Regions from separate parts of the Homo sapiens genome. Here region 2 is linked to region 1. The links are contacts of gene promoters, found by promoter capture Hi-C in human tissues and cell types (Jung and others, 2019). All regions are on one chromosome and are shown on one strand. The core of a region is centred on a gene start or on the middle of the fragment in contact, and the rest is flanking DNA. Distances in the headings are between cores, read along the strand shown.

The links. The method cuts DNA at HindIII sites, captures the fragments that hold promoters and counts their contacts. A contact is called where the count stands out against the background at its distance.
Region 2: a fragment that was not itself captured here is called in contact with the fragment with the promoter of BTC in region 1 in 2 of the 25 tissues and cell types used here (H1 embryonic stem cells and pancreas).

The regions. Positions count from the first base shown.
Region 1 is chr4:74,792,666-74,796,276 of GRCh38, reverse strand. BTC (betacellulin) reads left to right here and starts at 1,754. Exons shown (of 6, transcript NM_001729.4): 1 at 1,754-2,015. The coding sequence starts at 1,952. The HindIII fragment of the contact is 8,112 bases long and covers 1-3,611 here.
Region 2 is chr4:74,841,713-74,845,229 of GRCh38, reverse strand. No RefSeq gene overlaps it. Among named protein-coding and RNA genes, the nearest start is that of BTC, 49 kb to the right of the region's middle. The HindIII fragment of the contact is 4,890 bases long and covers 1-3,517 here.

The sequences.
Region 1 (3,611 bases), core at 505-3,004:
AATTTACCACTTGAATGGCATAAATGATGAATACTTACACCAAGTCCTGGAATTTTCCAATGCTCAACAAACATTTAGTACTTTTTGTTTAGGTCTCGCTTTTTTTTTTTTTTATTAGTATCTACGAAAAAGGAAAACAAAATTGTAGCATTCTGTTGGGGCTAACAGGACAGCTGTTGGCTAGGCTAAATGCCATCTTGGAGTAAGAGATACTTTAACTTAGGGCACTGGTGCTGAGAGATGGAGAGAATATCAGAAAAGAAAAATGCAGGGTGGAAGTGTTGAGAGGGAGGGAGATGATGTCAAAATCCATTGGCTTCCAGTGTTTCTGCTCTTTTTAGCTGGGGTGCAGTAACCTTCCATCTTACAACTTTGGGTTTCTTTAAACTTCATGCCTGCCCTCTCTACCAATGTTTTATGAGCTGTCATGTGGGACTAGAATGGGATTCTGAAAATTAAGAGCTGATTTTTATTCCACCGGATATATCAGTTGCCTGGGGCAGTAAAATAATTTAGTTTTGAAATGAAATGTTATTCGTGGGAGACAAGTGCACAACAATTTACTTAACTTAAACAGTAGGATGAGGAGGAAGAGGCAGACACCCAAACTACATTTCATATGTAAAATAAGGCTTACATGACTTTTGGATGCTATAGAAATAAAATTTCTGTACTGAGGGGCATAATTATCCACATAAATCTTATATGAGGAACACAGACCAGTACAAAAGCAGCTGTATCTTTTGGTTATCTTGGAGGCAATATATAACCACATAAGGTAAAATTGGATGCTGCTTGCTTTCTCTAAAAGCTGTGAGGATGTCTTTCTGTTCCAGAAATTGCTTAATGCAAGTAAATGAAAATATACTGAATACATGAGTAAATTCATAAACAGAAATACAAATGAAATTTCTAAAGTAGGTCCTGGTGAGCCCCAATTTTATGAATTATTAGAAGACAATGCACCCAGAAACTAAGACACTAGCTTGAAGACTTTTTTCATTTCTTTTCTTTTTTTTTTTTTTTTTTTTTGTTGCTGATGTTGTTGTTGTTGTTGTCGTTGTTTTGAAACAGTGTCTCACTCTTGCGCCTTGGCTGGAGTGAAGTGGCTCGATCTAGGCTCATTGAAGGCTCCATCTCCCAAGCTTAAGCGATCCTCCCCACCTCAGCCTCAGGGAATGGATGGGACTGCAGGTGCACACCACCATACCCGGCTATTAATTTACTTTTGTATTTTTTGTAGAGACGAGGTTTCGCTATGGCTTCAAGACTTTAAAAGGCAACAATGACTCTTTTGAAATTGCCTGCATTATCAAATGCCTGAAGTCAACCACAATGAATGGTGAGTCTGGTTTCTCCATGACACTAGCAATCCTCTGAAATAAAGGAAGTTAGAATTCCAGAACACGTTTGGGTCTCTGACTCTTCCTCGGTGGCTTCCAGGAGTTTAGGTCAGCCTGCAGGCCCGACCGGAACCCCCGACACCCCTCCACGCGGATTCTTTACATCTCCCTCCCTACCTTGTTTACGCCCTAGGGGGTAGGGAAATGAACAGTCAGTCAGGTGAGACCCAGCAGGGGGAGTGGTGAGCTGGTCCGAGGGCAGCCCGAATATGTCCCTGGGTGTGGGTATGGGTGTGGGGCAATTTGGGTGGGAGCAGCGTGGAGGCTCCCAGGACCAAGTCCTGCGCCTCTTTGGCGGGGTGTGTGCAGGAGGAGGGGGGATAAATAGGAGGCTCCCTCCTCCCGGCGACATTCACGGAGCCGGCCGGCCTCCCGCCCTGGGTGTTTCCCTGCCTTGTAGCCAGGGTGCCAGCCTGGGAAGTAGTTTCGTTTCCTTCTGCCTCCGGGATTAGTTTCCAGGCACCCTCTCAGGCGCCCGAGGCCCGGGAAGGGGGCGAAGAAGGAGGGAGACTTGTCTAGGGGCTGCCCGGCCCGGCAGAGCGGGGTTGATGGACCGGGCCGCCCGGTGCAGCGGCGCCAGCTCCCTGCCACTGCTCCTGGCCCTTGCCCTGGGTAAGTGGCCGTGCTGGGCACTGGAAACCAGGAGGAAAGTCTGGGGCTGGAGTCGCGGGGAGGGCGAACCCTGAACCGAGCTGGCATCTGGACAAGAGGGCGCGCTGGGGCTGGCAGGCGCGGGTTGGAGAACTTTGAAGGCTGGGAGAGCGCGAGGTTAAAGATCTGGCAATTGGGCACCTGGGGCTGCACCTGCTGGAGGCAGTCCCTAGACGCGTGAGAAGGCCCGAGGGCGGAAGCGATTCCGAGGTCCTCGCTGCCAGTGCTGCGAGCAGGCCGCCAGCTGCTGACTTGTGCGCACAGCAGAGGGCCTGGCGGCGCCGGCGGGCTGTCCACCGGGGTGAGGCGCTGTGCTCGCAAGTGAGGGTCGGGGGGTGGGGGCAGGGGCGAGCAGGGAAACCCACTAAAGAAGCTCACGTGGTAGTATAGACCAAGAAGCATATCCTGCAGGAGGCAGAAGAACGGGAACTCTTTGACTGAAGGTGTGATCACCTGGCGTTAGGGAAGAGTGCCAGCGGGAGGAGGAGTAGCAGGATGCCTAGAGCCCTCCAGAGGGTCTCTCCTGCCTCCTTAGGAGTCAGAACTCACAAAGCAGAGCTGGAACTTCAGATGTGGCTGGAAGCAGGCTTCCCCTTCCCCTCCACCGAGGGAAGGTAGTGAGAAGGCTTCTAAGTAGGAAAAAATCCCAACTCTTCAAAGCTTGCTCTCTGCATCATGGTCATTTTGCGGGGCAGAGAAGGGAAGGGAAACCAGTAACATTTTCTAATCTTAGCTGGGCTGTAGACACATCTGGGTTTGGAGCATTTATGTGGTAGGAGGAGAGTCTCCACAGCTGAAGTGTCACCACGATATCACTCCTACCTTCAAGCCTGGGAAGGGGACACCACAAATGAAAAAGAATGGGAATTCCTCTTATTGAGGAAAGAGAGGGGGAGCCTAAATGAAAACTTTCATTTGACTGTGTCCTTGGAGTAAGAGAGGTGGCTAAAAAGGTACAGTGAACTTGCTTGGAGGTGGATCAGACTTAGGACCAAGGTTAGAGAAAATAAACTTATTTAACAAACGCTGAAGAGGAAGGAGTCAGTAACAATTTAGTGGTAGAGTGAATGTGTACATTCATGAAGAAGAGCAATGGGGTTGAGACTTAACCCTAGAAATAGTACTGATGCTTTTGCCAGCATTGCTTGCAAGTAGCTGACATTCTCTTCCTCCACCGTGTCTAAACTATCCAACAGTCAAAGTATTCCCTGAGAATCTGTCGTAGTCAGCAAGGTGCTGAGGTATGTAGCAATGGAGGTGGGGAAAGGGCTCATGAGATTCCTAAAATAAAACATGATTCCTGCCCTAGAACTTGCACTGAATTTGGATATGCAAGCCCAGCAGGGTAACCTGTGGAAAAATTCACGGAATCAGAAAAGGGAGAAAGAGCTCAACAGCGGGGGCTGGAATAGTGGGGAAAGGCTGAATGGAGGACACGAATGCGTGCCTTGAGGCTTGGGTAGAGTTTGCAATAGTAGAGAGGAAAGAGGGAACAGAGACAAGGGAAAAAGCATTTAGTAAAGGGTTGGCGATGCGAATGAGCATGCTTTACTGGAA
Region 2 (3,517 bases), core at 363-2,862, 49 kb before region 1:
CCAGAAGTGTGAAAGGTTAGTGTCTGAAAGAAACTTCCATGCCTAAGAAGACCTGCAGATACTGCTGACATTTGAGAACCCTTGACCAACAAGCTCGCCCATTGTCTGATTATCCTGGAGTTAGCTGAGTTAGTCATTAAGCCCTGCCTGAGCATAGAGAGCTTCTGCTTGGCTGTTATTGAGTGTCATTGCTGTATGGAAATGAATGAAGTAGACCAGTGCTGTCGTGAATGGATTTATGAAGAAGTTTATCCTTAGTCTGGATGAGGGTGGATAGATGGCATCTTATTGGCATCTCCATAGTCAATAAGAGGGTGTTTCAGGGAGAGGAAGCCATAGGAATGAAAGGGTGTGCAGTTAGGACTATGAGGAGACCAGAGAGCCTAGAGCTGTAAGGTGCATTCCATAGAAAAGGGAGGGGGGAAACTTTGGATTGGTTTGGATGGCCAAATAATAAAAGGCTCTATGGGGGCTGGGCGTGGTGGCTCATGCATGTAATCCCAGCACTTTGGGAGGCTGAGAGAGTGGGTTGCTTGAGTCCAGGAGTTCAAGATCAGCTTGGGCAACATGGTGAAATCCTGTCTCTACAAAATAAAAAAAATACAAAAATTAGCTGGATGTAGTGGTGTGCCCCTGCAGTCCCAGCTACTCAGGAGGCTGAGGTGGAAGGATCACTTGAGCCCAGGACGTGGAAGTTGCAGTGAGTTGAGATCGCATTACTGCACCCCAGCCTGGGCAAGAGAGCAGGACTGTCTCAAAAAGTAAAATAAAATAAAGTAAAATAAAATGAAATAAAAGTAAATAAAAGGCTCTATGGCAGCAGTCCCCAACCTTTTTGGCACCAGGGACTGGTTTCATGGAAGACAATTTTCCCACGGACCAGGAGTGGGGGTGGGGGTGAAGGGTGAGGACGGTTTCAGGATGTTTCAAGCACATTACGTTTATTGTGCACGTTATTTCTTTTATTGTTACCTTGTAATATACAATGAGATAATTATACAACTCACCATAAGAATCAGTGGGAATCATGAGCTTGTTTTCCTGCAAGTAGATGGTCCCATCTGGGGGTGATGGGGGACAGTGACAGATCATCAGGCATTAGATTCTCATAATGAGTGCACAACCTAGACCCTTCCCACGCGCTGTTCACAATAGGGTTTGCCTTACGATGAGAATCTGATGCCACTGCTGATCTGACAGGAGGCGGAGCTCAGGCAGTAATAAGAGCAATGGAGAGTGGCTATAAATACAAATGAAGCTTTGCTCGCTTGCCTGCCACTCAATTCCTGCTGTGCTGGCCTGGTTCTTAATAGGCCATAGACCGGTACTGGCCCCGGGGTTGGGGAACCCTGCTCTATGGGCCACAGAGGAATTGATGCTCAATGTAATGTAGAGTTGAACGAACATTTTCTTTGAGCAGCCAAAGTGCTTGTGTAGACGTTGAGGGGGGAATGAATCAGGCATGTTTAATGTCCTAATAAGTTCAAACTCTAGTGAGGTAGAAAGATCCACAAGTAGCTGAGGAAAATTCAGTGCCATGTAAGCACTGTAAGAGGGCCAAGGTACCATGGTAGGGATTCACATAAGGTGCCTCTCTGAGTCTGGCAGTTCAGAAAATGTAACCTGAGGTTGGAGGTAGGGCTTGTACTAAGCTTTGAATGATGTTGTGATGGGAGGTTGAGAAGAAGGTATTCCTAGTGGAGGGGGCAACGTGAGTAAAGGCAGGGAAACATGAAGAAGTTTAGAGACCCATTAGATGTGCAGTCTCACTGCTGAGTATTGGAAGGGGAGGGGCAGGAGTTGGAACTCCAGAGGATATGGGGGTCAAATCAAGGAGAGCCAGCTATCATATTTAGGGGAAAAATGGAAAGCCCTAGAAGGGTTTTCGGAAAAAGAACGACATGGTCAGGTGGAAGATTAGTCTATGCAGATCCTGGGGAATGGATTTCAGCTGAGATTGATCTGGGGAAATTGTAATTATCTAGATGACAGCCTAAACAAGGCCAGAAGTAACACCAACAGGACTCACCAATGTATTAAACATGAGGAGCAGTATTATAACAGTCTGGCAGGGACCTGGGTCCAAACTCTGGCTCTGCCATTTATGCCCTGTGTCTATGTAACCTTAGACAAGTAGCTTTACCCTCGCTCCATATGCCTCAGTGGGTCATAGATTTCTTGTTCACGTTCCTGATTTTTTTTTCAAGCTTCTATTTGCCTTCCTTATACTGTTGGTACAATTTTCCTTATTGTCCCATATTCACCCTCAATCCTGAGCACCCCTCACATCTCTCCTTTCTTTAAACCCAGGCTCACTGACATACTGTTAAAGCAACAGGAGTTTCCTACTAAGCCTTCCCTTTCTTCATATGGATTCTTTGCAATCAAATGCTTAGAACTTCATTTCTTAGAGTTTATTTTCTAATGTTACCATTTCAAATATCTGGCTTCTGTAAACATCTTTGACTGTTGTCTGCACATGCACCCACTCTCTGAGAGATTCATAGAATTCGGGACACTCAGTGCCACATCCTGGACACCAGGAACATATACACTTTTTCTGCACCACCTGTGAGATGACCAGGGCAGGTTGGCATGGTGTTGGGTAGGAATGAGGACTCTAAGAGTAGTGAGCAAGAAATGTAACTTCAGGGAACACCCAGAGTGAGCTCATAATAAGGCACAGTCATACACATATGTGTGTGCTACAGAGTGTGTGCATGCATGTTCCCCCAGATATGTGCATGACCACATGCGTAAGTGTGGGTTTATGTAAAAGGATGTCTTGCCTTCTGTGATGGTTAATACTGAGTGTCAACCTGATTAGATTGAAGGATGCAAAGTATTGATCCTGGGTGTGTCTGTGAGGGAATTGCCAAAGGAGATTAATGTTTGAATCAGTGGGCTGGGAAAGGCAGACCACCCTTAATCTGGGTGGGCACAATCTAATCAGCTGTCAGCATGGCTAGGGTAAAAGCAGGCCGAAGAACGTGAAAAGCCTAGACTGGCTTAGTCTCCCAGCCTACATCTTTCTCCCATGCTGGATGCTTCCTGCCCTCAAACATCAGACTTCAAGTTCTTCAGCTTTGGGGCTTGGGCTTGCTTCCTTGATCCTCAGCTTGCAGACAGCCTATTGTGGGAACTTGTGATCATGTGAGTTTAATACTCCTTAATAAACTCCCCTTAATATATCTATCTATCTTATTAGTTCTGTCCCTCTAGAGAACCCTGACTAATACACCTGCCGATCCAGGATTTGGCAATTAGGTTAAATCTCTACATTGGCCCACATACCCTCAAATGTTATCATGTGTCCATGATGTGAATGGTGCTCCCGTGGTTGTGGCATACCTGAACATAACACCTGAACAGTGCACAATCTGAACATATGTACTGGAAGGAGAGTGGATTTTTAACATATCCAAGTAGGGGATCCTAACAAAGTAGGCTTTGGGGTATATTAGGTCTGATACTTAGCGTACAACTACTAGTTCCTGAGAAATAAAAATTATTCTAA